Regions from separate parts of the Homo sapiens genome. Here regions 1, 3, 4 and 5 are each linked to region 2. Evidence: promoter capture Hi-C in 16 types of primary human blood cells and fetal thymus (Javierre and others, 2016). All regions are on one chromosome and are shown on one strand. Each heading gives the region's core, a stretch centred on a gene start or on the middle of the fragment in contact. The rest is flanking DNA. Distances are from core to core; before and after follow the strand shown.

Evidence for each region. The method cuts DNA at HindIII sites, captures the fragments that hold promoters and counts their contacts. A CHiCAGO score of 5 or more calls a contact.
Region 1: a fragment that was not itself captured here is called in contact with the fragment with the promoter of CENPW in region 2 in 2 of 17 cell types (monocytes and M0 macrophages); the score reaches 7.6 in monocytes.
Region 3: a contact is called between a fragment that was not itself captured here and the fragment with the promoter of CENPW in region 2, in 1 of 17 cell types (M2 macrophages). The highest score is 5.5, in M2 macrophages.
Region 4: a contact is called between a fragment that was not itself captured here and the fragment with the promoter of CENPW in region 2, in 3 of 17 cell types (M1 macrophages, monocytes and endothelial precursors). The highest score is 6.3, in M1 macrophages.
Region 5: a fragment that was not itself captured here is called in contact with the fragment with the promoter of CENPW in region 2 in 1 of 17 cell types (endothelial precursors); the score reaches 5.6 in endothelial precursors.

What each region holds. Positions count from the first base shown.
Region 1 is chr6:127,190,512-127,193,211 of GRCh38, forward strand. All of the region lies in intron 4 of RSPO3 (R-spondin 3), which reads left to right. All of the region lies in intron 1 of LOC105377989 (a long non-coding RNA gene), which reads right to left. Among named protein-coding and RNA genes, the nearest start is that of RSPO3, 73 kb to the left of the region's middle. The HindIII fragment of the contact is 4,554 bases long and covers 1-2,700 here.
Region 2 is chr6:126,338,839-126,341,682 of GRCh38, forward strand. CENPW (centromere protein W) reads left to right here and starts at 1,277. Exons shown (of 3, transcript NM_001012507.4): 1 at 1,277-1,561. The coding sequence starts at 1,436. RefSeq lists enhancers at 1,167-1,436, 1,447-1,496. The HindIII fragment of the contact is 14,002 bases long and covers 1-2,844 here.
Region 3 is chr6:127,263,026-127,265,725 of GRCh38, forward strand. No RefSeq gene overlaps it. Among named protein-coding and RNA genes, the nearest start is that of RNF146, 2.5 kb to the right of the region's middle. The HindIII fragment of the contact is 2,811 bases long and covers 1-2,700 here.
Region 4 is chr6:127,129,229-127,131,928 of GRCh38, forward strand. All of the region lies in intron 1 of RSPO3 (R-spondin 3), which reads left to right. The region is part of intron 3 of LOC105377989 (a long non-coding RNA gene); the gene reads right to left. Among named protein-coding and RNA genes, the nearest start is that of RSPO3, 12 kb to the left of the region's middle. The HindIII fragment of the contact is 972 bases long and covers 892-1,863 here.
Region 5 is chr6:127,077,282-127,079,985 of GRCh38, forward strand. The region is part of intron 4 of LOC105377989 (a long non-coding RNA gene); the gene reads right to left. Among named protein-coding and RNA genes, the nearest start is that of RSPO3, 40 kb to the right of the region's middle. The HindIII fragment of the contact is 1,715 bases long and covers 433-2,147 here.

The DNA.
Region 1 (2,700 bases), core at 7-2,506, 850 kb after region 2:
CAAAAATAATAAGATCAACCCCTTTTTCACACTGTGAGTGCTTTATAGAAGGCATAAAGCCATGGGCTTCCAGTTGAATTTCATTCCACACCAAATAAAAAGAAAAGAAAAATGTAATACTTATTTAATTGGTTTGAGTCATATAATTCGTGATATTTAGTCCTCAGTCTGTAATGTGGAATACATTTTTAGCATTTGGGTAAAAATTATAACCTAGTTTGTCTTGGGAAGTGAACTACTTACAGCTCAATGGCTCCCCTTAGTGACACTTCGCAAGAAATTCACAAAGCAGCAGCTTTTATGAAGACCTATAGACAGATTTTATCCAAACATCAAGAAAATAGCTGCTATTCATAATTTAAGTGGTTCTCAATAAGTGAATTACAGTTGTGATTCTAGGGAAAGCAACTCTTTTTTTCATAACCTCATTATGTTTAAAGGATATTGAACGTGTTCTATGGTTTGCATTTTCACTTGGAATTTAAATATATACAAGTTAGGAAGAATAATTCAGGATCACTCTCTTTGTCATTTTTTACATGTTTATTTTTTCTAGTTCATATATGCACTTGAACAGGTTTTAAAAAGATAACCTGCAATTAATTTAATTTATATCTGGGTGCCTATTCCAAATTTATCTATTAAGAAAACTTGCCTTAAAATTAGTAGCTACAGTAAGTCAAAAACGTATTTGATATTCATTAGGAAAAATGAAAGAAACAAAGGAGCAACCATGCAATTTGAAGTAAGTTTTGAGAGTATATATTTGAAGAAATTGGGTCTTCTGTTGCTCTGCAGCTTTGGCTTTTAAATGTGGTTGCACATCAAAATAAACTGGGGGGGAGGGGTGTGAACTTGTTGTTGACTACAGGTTCTTGGGCCCCTCATAAGAACCACTGAATCATAATCTCCAAGGGTGGGATCTAGGAATCTGTATTTTTATATGTTTTGGAACATTGTCTGCAGAAGGCCATAGGAAATGTTTATGTAAAAGACTGTATGTGTTTATACTAACAGAAAATAATTTCAGAATCTTAAAAATAACAATTATCAATTCAATTATGTGATACTACTATGCAACAAAATCTTAAATATGGCTTTTTGGTCTACATGGAGATTTTAGCTACTCTTTCAAAAATTAAGGCTCAAAAATACCAACCACTGACTACATTCCCTCTACAGCATCTTATTACTTACAGCAATTTTCTGAAATAGGAAATAAGGTCAACATGTAAGAATAGCCTATTGGCCTTTTCTAAACTCATCACAGAAACATCCAAACTCTGGCCTGCTATCTGAATTCAATACTTGCCCTTCTCTAGTTTTCAGTACACTGGTCCTCAGGACAAACTCCCAACATGGCAATTGAAGCCCGTATATCTTTCCAGCTTCTATGGGTAATATTCTATATATAGACTCTGATCAAACCAAGGAAGTTGACTTTCAATGCCCCAGATTCACCATGTCCTTGCATGCCTTAGTGCATGTTCACTGCCTGGCATGCACTTCTTCCCTCATCAGCCTAGCAAACTCTCAGTCATTCTTTTAGGCTCACCTCAAACATCATTACATCAGGGGAATTATTTTCAGTCTCTGAAATCATTTTCAGTCTCTCTTCATGGAGTTCAATGCTTTCCCACTGTACCCCCAACAGGACCTTGTACACACCTCTATTTTAGCATTAACATGTGACTATAATTATTGGCAGTCTCCATATCTAACTTATATCCCCAGGTTTTATCACACATTTTTGGCACAGAGTAGGGGCTTTGTTCATGTTTGTGCAAGGGGTTAATAATATTAGTTTTCATTTGTCCCATGAGTAACATATGCCAGTCACCATGCTAAATGCTCTACCAGCATCTCATTTAATCCTTATGAAGTTTAGCAAGAAGTAAGGATTATTCACATTTTAAATATATCAGAGAGTTAATCCTGAGAAATATCAACAACTTGCCAGAGTTCACACAACTAGTTGGTGGCAGACCTAGAATTTGAAAACAGCATTTTTCTGGCCCTAAGGACAGTGTACTTAAATGTTACACCATAGTGCTTCTCTGCAAGGGCTCAGATTGTACTTGACTGCTAATAGCAAATTCTCTTTGATGTTTTCTACCCAAACACCCTCATAGGTAGAACATCAAGGGGAGATGAACGCTGTTTTAATCACTAGAATGTTCCAAAACCCAGTTCAGGCAGGTACGTGCGTGTACACATGCACACAAACATGAATATTCAGTGAATGGCAAAGCACACGTGTGTGTGTATATATATATGTGTGTGTATATATGTCAGATTGTCATAACTGGAATGCTTAGTTTGCAAAATTGCCAAAAAAGCCTGAAAAAAATATTAACCACATCAATGAAAAGTCACCAGAATAAAAAAGGAAGTCCCCTTTAATGAAAACCTTACAAAATTATCCCAAATTACACGTGATTTTTAATGGACTACAGCCACTCTTGTGTATTTCTATTTTATTTCTTACACAAGCAGAAAATATATTTATGCAAAGGGTAGTTAGCATTTCCAACCACTAACACATGGCCTGTAAAAAAATAACAACCTCATTCTTCTGTTGTGCAATAGCCCTCTGTTGAGCAGCAATAATGTACAATGTGTTAGTTTCCTGTTACTTTACTAGAGCCTTCCCTTTCACTCACTGCCCAGACTAGTTATTCCTTGGACATAAAGTTATAA
Region 2 (2,844 bases), core at 27-2,526:
TAGATTGAGATTTTAACTTAAGCAGAGTTGGAATATTGCCAGGTTAGTGTGAGGATAAAAGAGAATGGCTATAAAGTTGTGGAGAAATACAGGGCAGTATTATGATGATCGATGCATAATGGACTACAGGAGGGAAGATAAGGCATAGAGTGGGGTGGCAGAGCTGGGGGGTGTGGTGAGAGGAACTGAAAAAGATAGGACAGTAGTCCCAGTAGCATCGAAGAATTGTTGGAGGGAGTAAATTCAAAAGATAGAAGATACGGTTGAAGAGAGACAACTAAATTGAAAGTGGCAGATCAAACCGAAGGTAAAGGTATTTAGTAATGACACCGCCTAGGGTATGACCACATGCATGAATAACTCAAGGGTGTAGAAGATGACTGGCAGAGAGGAGGTCTCAGAAATGGGAGGCCAGATAGTAGAAGGATCACTTGTGTGCGTGAGATCACAATAACATAATATTGAAATCTCAATAGAGATAGTATTAGAGATAATTATAATTAAAATCACAGCGGATCTCAAAGATTGGTCTGCAGACTAGCAAATGCCAATGTCCCTGACTTGTTAGAATTGCAAATTTTGAGTATCTCCTAGATCTAGTGAATGAGAAACTGGGAGCTGGGCCCTGCGAACAGTAGTTTAACAAGTCCCCCAGGTGATTTTGATGCACATTAAGGTTTGATAACTATTAATACTTCTATAATAGCACAGATAATAGAGAAATTAACAGCTTGAAGAAATAACAAAAAGTTCAGTGAGTTAGCATGAAACTATACCTGAAAGTTATTGCAAGGTTAAGTGAGAGGAACCTTAAAATTAAAGGGAGCAGCATTTGTAAAGAAAAGCTAGAATCATGAAAAGACCTAAGATAAGATCAAATGAAATTACGTAGAAGTGTAAAATTCTTAACTGTTAGTATCTGAAAATCATGCATTCCTTGCTAGGAAGGCATGGCATTAGTGCTGTCGGAATCCTGATAAAACATCACAAACTTCTGTTCGTTGGTATTAGGGACAGTATAGAGTGAGTGCTTGAAGAACTGCCTTGGCTTACCAATCTCTCTCTCCACAACTTCCAATCATCTCTAGGGAACCTAGCAGAAACACTTCCACAGAGCAAAAGTTATAATACAGAAAGTGATGAAAGGAGGACGCAGGCTCTCAATGACGTCAGGTATTCCCGGGACCCGCCCACCGTGGGCGTTTTCCACCTACAGGCAGGCGTCTCCGGGGGCGGGGCTTGCTCAGGGTTAACGTCACTACTGAGCGCCGGGCGCGTTCCGTTGGCGGCGGATTCGAACGTTCGGACTGAGGTTTTTCTGCCTGAAGAAGCGTCATACGGACCGGATTGTTTTCGCTGGCCCAGTGTCCCCGGAGCTTGTGTGCGATACAGAGAGCACCTCGGAAGCTGAGGCAGCTGGTACTTGACAGAGAGGATGGCGCTGTCGACCATAGTCTCCCAGAGGAAGCAGATAAAGCGGAAGGCTCCCCGTGGCTTTCTAAAGCGAGTCTTCAAGCGAAAGAAGCCTCAACTTCGTCTGGAGAAAAGTGGTGACTTATTGGTGAGATTCCATCCCTTCTCGGGCTGGGAATGGGGCACGGGAGAGGTAAGGGCAATAACCTTAAGCCTTTGTTTTTCCGCCCCGAGCCAATTTATAGCTCTTTCAGGCCCCTGTTTAAGGCAGTTCCAACAATGACAGGGAACGTATGCCCCACCCTGGCATGTCAGTTCATATTCCTGGCGCTCAGTTGTACCGGGCCGCGCCGAAAAGTAAATATCTGGATCTTTTTAAAGGGAGACTGTTAGTCACATGAGCTTAACGTACAGTTACTGCTTACAGTTTTAAATATTGCTGTTTAGGAACACAATCTGGCACCGTGATTAATGTACTTGCAAAGGGTATGAAAGAATCACCCTTTAAAAAATAGATTTTGGAATTCAGTCTGGGTCATTTTTATTTAGCTATTGTAAAAGGCATTGCTCACATGCCTTTTAAGGGCCTCCCTTCTTGCCTCCCTCCCTGTCTCCTCTTTCCTCCCTTGGCTCCCTCCGTCTCTCCTCTATTTACGCATTTAACCAAACATTGCCTTATTTCCTCTAGGTGAGGGTGCTTACTAAAGGACCCTGATGGGAAAGTTTATTTGTAGGAAGAGTCCTCTCAACTGTTAATTCATTTCGCTAGACAAGTAATAGAACACCTAGTCAGTTTTTAAGCTAGACTACTAAAGCCTGCTTATCTGACCCATAATACCTGAAGCATAATGTTCTCCTAATAAGAAGCCCCAATCAAACCACTGTATAATAATGTTTCTGTCTTGAAATAAATTCAGTTTGTGTGTTGAATACCTGGAACACATATTCCTCTGGCACAATGAACACTATTTCTCTAGGTTTAAACCACTGGAGGCATGTTCGGTAGCTTGTCCTTGGCTCTTTGAGTAAAGGAGCCATTATAAATGGACACATAATTTCCAGGAGATCAAGGTACAGAATTGTGGATAATAAGAGCATACTGCATGAATCATCCTAGCTGTTCTTAAACGACATTGGTTTTTCTACCTCCTCTTTACTCTTTTGCTTCCTGGACTTCTCCACTGCCACCCCATCTGTTGCTTCCTTTTCTAAACTACTATAGAATTATCGCCCCTTTCCCCTTATTTGGTCTCTGAAGCCAAAACACAACAAAAACACATTTTCCCCCAGAAAAGTATTACTTCTATCTTCTGCCCTTATTTTTGTTACTTTCTTAAATCTTGTAAGAAGAGGCAATACAGGCTGTCTTGTGCCCCGACCCCAATTAACTATCCCATGCTGGTGATAGAGGTGGCACAAATGAACGGAATT
Region 3 (2,700 bases), core at 111-2,610, 920 kb after region 2:
CTGGTACATTCCTGAATCTGGTTTGTTCTGTTTCCAGGCATATGAGAAAGTTGTGTCCACAGCTATCAGATGGTTGCCGGCATGTGAAAAGGGAAGAAATTTAACTTAGAGTTGGTAAGCAAAATAGCCCCAGACAAGCATTCTTATTTGGTCTCAGGACCCTTTGACAGTGCTAATTTATAGAAGACCCCAAAAAACTTTTATGAGCTAATCAATATTTACCAAATTAAAAGTTGAAATTGAGAATGGTTTACAATATATACTAATTCATTTAAAAATGACTCATTGTATTAACATACTTTATTAAAAAAAAAAACACTACATTTTCCAAAACAAAGCTAACTGAATGAAAGAAGAGTGCAGTTTTACTTTTTTTTTTTTTTTACATCGTTTTAATGACTGGTTTAATAGATATAGTCAAATTCTCATATCTGCTTCTATAATCAATCTATTGCTACATCACATACCATGTAGCTTCTGGAAAACTCCACTGTACATTTGAGAGTGCAAGTAAACAAAGCAACTAGAGTCTTAGTATTATTATAAGAACAATTTTCCCTCAGACACTCTGCAAGAGTCAAAGGACCCCTATGGGTCACTAGATAACACTTGGAACACCGCCGCCCTAAACTAGCCACGAGTGGTTTCAACGTACATTCTATTGTAACACATCATTTTCTCATGCATTTTCATGGATGTCTTCAGATATTAAGTAAACAAAAAAAAATGCTTTGATCCTTAAGTAAAACAAATAACATTGGACAATTTTTGAGTGTTGGAAGGATAAATGGAGAAGAGTAGGTGCCTGGAGATGTGTGGTATTCAGCAAAGTATTTTGTAAGTTGTGGGAAATAGACAATAAGCTATAAGCAAACAGGCAACTGGGTAATTCCTAGCAGTCAGCTGCAACTTCTTTACCTTTGATTCAATGAAGCAAAATGGAATCCCAGTGACAGTAACATTATTACAGAAATACATTGAAACTGTTAGGCTCTGATTTATTTAAGCAAATAATTTGAAGTTTTGGTACTTAAAATTACTGGAAACCAGTTACTCTTAATTACTGGAAACCAGCACTCTGACAATGTTGAGAGGTGCTGTCCTGTGTTATTCAAAGATATAAACTTCTATCTTTCTTTCAAGTGGCTGATGGAGGTAGGGTGTATAGTATTCCATGCATTCAATTCTGCTTTTCATATGCAACTACTGAAAAATGAGAAGTTCACTTTTATTCATATATATATACAAATGGGGATATATTCATATATATATATAAATGGAGATATATATATATTCATATATATATATAAATGGGGATATATATACACACTCACATACACAAATGTGGTTTTTGGGGTTTTTTTGAGACGGAGTCTTGCTCTGTTGCAGTGCAGGCTGGAGTGCAGTGACACGATCTCGGGCAACTTCCGCCTCCCAGGTTCAAGCGATTCTCCTGCCTCAGCCTCCCGAGTAGCTGGGATTACAGGCGCGTGCCACCATGCCCAGCTAATTTTTTTGTGTTTTTAGTAGAGACAGGGTTTCACTGTGTTAGCCACGGTGGTCTTGATCTACTGACCTCGTGATCCGCCCACTTCGGCCTCCTAAAGTCCTGGGATTACAGGCGTGAGCTACTGCCCGGCCATGTGTGTATTCATTCATTCATTCATTCATTTACTCATTCATGTAACACATATTTACAGAGAACCTCTTTAAGTGTGTCAGGCACTATTCCTGGCAGTTGAGATACAAAACAGAACACACATTCCTGGCCTCCTGTGTCTTGCGTCCTAATGTGATGAGAAATATGATGAAGATTAGTAAGTAAAATAAATTATCCATTACACTGTGATAAGTATTAAAAAGTAAAGGAGGAAATATGAAATATTGGGAATGGAAACATCATGACTTAAAATATGCTGACAAGTAGAGGGACTGACTGAAGAGTTGGACATCTGAGCACATATGGAGGGAGCATGATGGGGAAGAGTGTTCTAAGCAGAGGAAACCACAACTGCAAAGACTATGAGGTTGGCAGCTTGTGGAGAGCTTTCTGGGAATACAAAGCTGGGTAAACAGTCTGTGGGGTCAAAGAGGTAATGAGGGGAGGATTTTAAAGCCATCGTTAGGACTTTGGTTTTTACTTGTGTTGGGAAGCCACAGGAGACTTTGAGCAAAGGAGTGGTACGATCTCACTTCTTTTTAAGTAGATTTATTTAGGATTCTGTATTAAGGATAGAGTCAAAAGACTAGTTCCTGGTCTACCGTAACACTATAATCCAAACAAGAGATGATGCAGATTGTAGCGGAGGTGGTAAGTAGTTGGATATACTTTGAAGGAAGAGCCAACAGGTTATATGCCAAATGCATATAAGACATAAAAGAGAGGAGTTAAAGGTGGGTTTGAACAAGGAAAGATGCAACCATTTACTGAAATACAAAGACCTTGGGTATGAGTGAGAAGGGGTTGAACTAGCTGACATCTTACAGTCTGTGCCTGGATTCAAATCTCAGCTGTGTGTGTCTCTCTCTCTGTAAAATGGGAATAATAATAGTGCCTACCTCATAGTTTATTATGAGAATTAAGTGGGTATATATGAATAAAGCACTTAGAGCAACACCTGGCACATTGTTAGTTAATATTAGCATTACCTCTTCAAGCTGGAATCTTCGAGTACATATCAAATTTTAGCTATTCTCTGT
Region 4 (2,700 bases), core at 128-2,627, 790 kb after region 2:
TGAACTTATCATTTCTACTTCACTCCTAATGTGCTCTTCTTTGGGTAGTTATCTCCATTAAATCGTGTTTATGAGTCTTTTTTAGTCCATGAAGGATTTTCAAATCTTGCCATAAACTGGGGAAAGTTCCATGTAAAAGTGGGGTGGAAGTCTGGGCTTCCTGACAGACTTAATCCTGCTAGTTAAGGGGGCTCTTTGGGATAATATGGGTTCCAATGAGTCACTAGGCCAAATCCCAATAACCGCAGTTGCCAAAAGTAATTAGACTGAAGAAAGCCAGGCTCCTTGGGAGGAAGGTCATCACAGCGAGCTTTAGCCATTGCTCCAACGTCAGACCTAGTTAATTGTCCCTAAGGATGGAGAGCAATCATGAGTTCCAGAGAGTAGGAAATATACCAGAAAACAATGCTTTTTCACTAATTTTTTTCCCAATAGGTTATTTACCATAAGCGTGCAAGAGATGGAAATACGTCATCAGTATGTGCAGTTTATGTCACTATCCTCATAAACCACCTTGTTTGCCTGTGTGAATGTACGTGCCCACATAGAGAACTCCCAATTCATCACTACAAGTTCTCCTCCTCCCTTCCTGAGTAGATAAAGAACTCAAAGAATCTAGTCTAAGTTCATAAAAGAAGGTGTCTGACTAGCATGGAAATGGAAGGGAAGGAATTCTTGTAAACATCCTTAGGTCAACTTAAATATCATATTATTGAAGTAACATTTGGCAACAAGAAAATGGTAGTACATTATATCAGACAAGCAATTCTAAAATATCTGGAGCTAGAACAAACTTATGATTTCTTGTACTGAAAATAATTCACTTTAGAAACATGGTGTTGTAAGTATCTAAGTAGAAATTATCAACAAGTAAGTGGTGCTATAATTTTAAGCTTTCAATATTTGAGAAATTAAAAGATTGTTAAACCTTTCCCTAGGAAAATACTCAAGTAGCACAAAAGTATTCTTGCTCAATACCCAAAGTAAAAATTTGCCTTTGAAACCATTGGCTTGGATACCCAGAAAAGATACTCCATCACTTTATGTAACGGATCTTTAATTGAACAAAGACACTGTCCTTACAGTGGTAAGTTTCAAATTCCTTTATGGTTCAGAATGACTTCAGTATATTTCAGCACTCTTTTGAGCTTAGACTACCAGTTCTCAGTTTAAATATGTGGATGAGTGATATTGCTTATTTTAAATCTACAAACAGGAAGTCAAACTCTTTTTCTGGCCAGCTTTTTCTGGCAACTGGAAATCTCCAGGTATCATCTGGCAGACAAATAAACCCTGTCCTTGTGCACTGCACACATCTAATAGTTATCATGACCTGATTGTCACTATGGCCAATATTGTGGAACAATGTATTTAATTTTCTTTCATCTTAAATTGACAATAAGATAACCAAAGAATAGAAGAATCCTAATTTTGGAAAAACTTAGCAAAATTTTTTGCTGTGTTTACTTGTACCACTGGTCATGTAGTTTCTGCCATAAAATACAAACGGTATGGACAAATGCTGCTTGGCCACAAACTGAGGACATACTGAGAAGCTACATATTTGTTTCTTATAGAATTTAGTTTTGTTTTTCAATTTATGATGAGTTTTTTTTTATATGGAGTCCAAAAGGACCCTCGTTGCTTGTTTGGTAACAAGGAACAAGGTCCAAACATGGTATCCTTAGCCCCTCTGACTTTAATTCACACACTCTCATTTCATGCCATCCTCAAGATGGTAACTCTCAGTCCCCTCCACAAAGACTGAATATAATTTTAAAAGGACAGTCTTTCTTTCATATAGCACATTTCTAAGACATCCAGCCAACTTTCCAGTTCTATCCAGAGCTTAATGTAGATCCAAGCTTTTAACACAGATCAGTGGGATTTCCTTGGAGGCCAGTTAGGCTTGCAGTATCACATAGATGCATACTTGGCCCTAGTACAATCAATAACATTTGCTATCATATCCAGCCTGTGTTTTTAAACCTGTGGGCATTATGTGACCATACCCCAAAGTTTAGTTTCTAACAGAATAAGGGAGAGTTGCAGCAAGAGAACCTCCAAACAATTTCATGCTATAACTACCATCTTCAGTATCCATGTGGACATCCCATTGACATTCCAGGAATTCATTTTAAACTGTTTGCCTCTGAACTGAGTATGTGCTCTAAGGAGAGCCTACGATCCAAGAAACCTTCATGTAATAGTTTTTACCCAAACTATTTAATTCACAAGCTGTTGGGCTGAAGTGCTCTAGGTCATCAGATAAGAACACATTCAAATGAAAATTGCCAAGATTTTCCAGTGCAGGATATTTTCGTCACCCTTCCTAGCTCAAACTCACTTCCTCATCCACTCCACAAATTCTAAACCACTACTAAGATGAGTTGAACAGTCTTAATTTTATAATCTTCCAAAGAAAAAATAAAGACACAGACAGCCGAGTTAATTTATAAAACAGTGCTGCATTTATCTTGGCAGATGTCAGTTTTCCCCCCACTAGCTCTTTCATGCTGACTACTTAGCAACTCATGGAGGATCAAGTCATTCCTATGTATCAAGCACCTTGAGAACCATTGCACTGAATAAGTTTGGTGTGTCTCTTCACACACTTCTTGTACAAATTTCTTTCCTCATAGACAATTTATTTACTGGGTCTCTGAAACCTAAATAATCCCTTTACTTTAAACCTGAAGC
Region 5 (2,704 bases), core at 40-2,539, 740 kb after region 2:
AGGCATTGCTCTCTTTTTGTTATTTAAAATCCCCTTAATGATTACTTCCTTATTGTCTTACTTTGATGTTGAAGTGTCCTCAGATTATTTCACTGGTCCTCTTCTTTGTTAACCTTAGAAATTTCATTAATATCCTGGGCTTCTATTGCCAGTGATATGCTATAAATTCCCAACTGTATATCCCATTCATTTATTGTACACAGCTTTGTTGATCACTATGTCCCAGACATTTATGTTAGCTGAAATAAAATAATCATGGTCATCACCATCTTGAAACTTAAAGTAGAGTACTACAGCCACACACTAAATATGTAAATACGCCAAACAAGTAAGTAAATAAATAAGAAAAATTAAATGATATAGAGCCATGAAGAACAGGACATAAAGAGAATAAGGTAGGAGAAAGGAAAGTCACTAAGGAATTGACATTTAAGCTTAGATCTAGAAAAAAGAAAGATCCAATATAGCTATGATCTGGGAGAAAATTGGTCCAGGGTTTCTGGCCTGGAATCTCTCCATTCCTAATATCCTCCTGAGCTCTGAACACACTCCAACAATTGCCTACTAGACAGTTCATTTGAGTAGCCTATAATTTTCTTGATTTTAAGAGGTAAAAATATAATTTCCTATACAAACGCAGTTGTCCTGCTACTCCTTGCTGCTATTTCCATCTTGGTTAAAAGGCACTACCCAAGCTAAACATCTCGGAAGTCTTGGCAAGAATCTTCCTTCTCCCTCACACCTTACATTATTCCACACCAAGTGTTGTCCATCCTGTTCCTCATAGAAGGTACTTAATGAGTGTTTCTGGCTAAGGAATGAATGACTCAATCAGGAAGTGAATGAATGGAAATGTTACTGGGCTTCTGATTCTTGATGAGAAAAACTTCTAAGCACCATCAACAAATCTGTCTTAATAGCAGTAGTACATGTTTTTTCTTAATTTAGGATGTATATCCTGCCTTTCAAAGGAGCTTAATCTACTTTTTGTTGAACTCATCACAGTCTTGAAGACCTGTAGGAAGAAACTAGATTCCAACGTGCCACCAGATCTCACCCAGCCTGAAATCAGGTCTTGGTAAATAAAATTTACTAGAGCCTCTGTTTTTTTTTTTTTTTTTTTTTTTTTTTTTTTGAGATGGAGTCCCGCTCTTTCGCCCAGGCTGGAGTGCAGTGGTGTGTCTCAGCTCACTGCAAGCTCTGCCTCCTGGGTTCACGCCATTCTCCTGCCTCAGCCTCCCGAGTAGCTGGGACTACAGGCGCATACCACCACACCCGGCTAATTTTTTTGTATTTTTAGTAGAGACAGGGTTTCACCGTGTTCGTCAGGATTGTCTCGATCTCCTGACCTCGTGATCTGCCTGCCTCGGCCTCCCAAAGTGCTGGGATTACAGGCGTGAGCCACCACGCCCAGCCAGAACCTACATTTTTATTTTAGGAAGTTTTGTTCCTGGGAAGAGCATCAGAAAAAGAAAACGATGCTCATCTTTTCCTCTCTTTTACTACCTATACACAGTGAATTCATAGATTTATACTCCTGCCCATACATCTTTCCTGAAGTACTCCTCTACAGAATTGTATATCCAACTGCCTACTCAGCATTTCCATTTAGATGTCTAATTTACTTCTTAAACATAAAACTCCAAAATGAATTTCTGATATTCTTCCCCAAACCCTGCTCTTTGAACAGTCTTTATCATATATGTTAATAACAAGTTCCTCCTTCTAGTTACTCAGGACAAAAACTTTCGAGTCGTGCTTAATTCCTCTCTTTTCCTTATATTCCATATCCAATCCTTGAGAAAATCTTCTTGGTTCTACTTTCTAAATGATTCCAGAATCTGATCCGTTATAGCCATGACCATCTCTACCACCTTATCCTAAATTGACATTGTCTGCCTCTCGGATTGTTGCAAAAATTTCCTAAATGGTATCTCTGTTTCACACTTTTTCCTTACTTCCTTTCTCAAAAGAGGCCAGAGAAAGACTTTCTGCTCAAAATGCTCCAATGGCTCCCTCTTACCTGGAGTAATATCCTAAGCCCATACAGTGGCATAATAGGCCCTCTCTGACCTGCCCCATTACTCCTTATGCATCAACTGAACTTGTACCCCAACTTGGATCTGCACATCCACTGGTCTAACTGAAGCTTCCATGCCTTGTCAACTTTTTCACAGTGCTCCCTGGAACTCATGGGTTTGTCATCTCAACAAATGCTGTATTCTCAACCTCTTCTCCATTGGTCACTTTGCCATATTAGATCCAGCATAACTTGTATGCCCCTCAATTGATGGCTTTTTCTCCCACTCAGCAAGATGAGCTATGTATTCTTTCTGCCCTTTATGGCTACTTCTGTAATAAGTATAGATAAATATTTTTTAAATATATCATTTGATGTGGGTTTATTTTACTTAAAATAAGTGTATATAATATATAATACAATTTTGGTATATGAAAGATTTTCCCATCTATTATTTTTTCCCAAGATTGTTGAATACCAAAAGACTAGGAAATGTTAGTATGCATTTGATATTATTTGTTCTTGGCTTGTCATGTGTAATTGTGTCATATGAATAGGTCCAAGCCAAGCAGAGATAACTTAGCAGTGTAAAAGTAGCATGACAGCTAAGAAAGATTATTTAAGGTCACATAGGATGGCCAATTGAAATTTTTGTTTGTCAGTCTTGGGGTTAATCACAGTGGC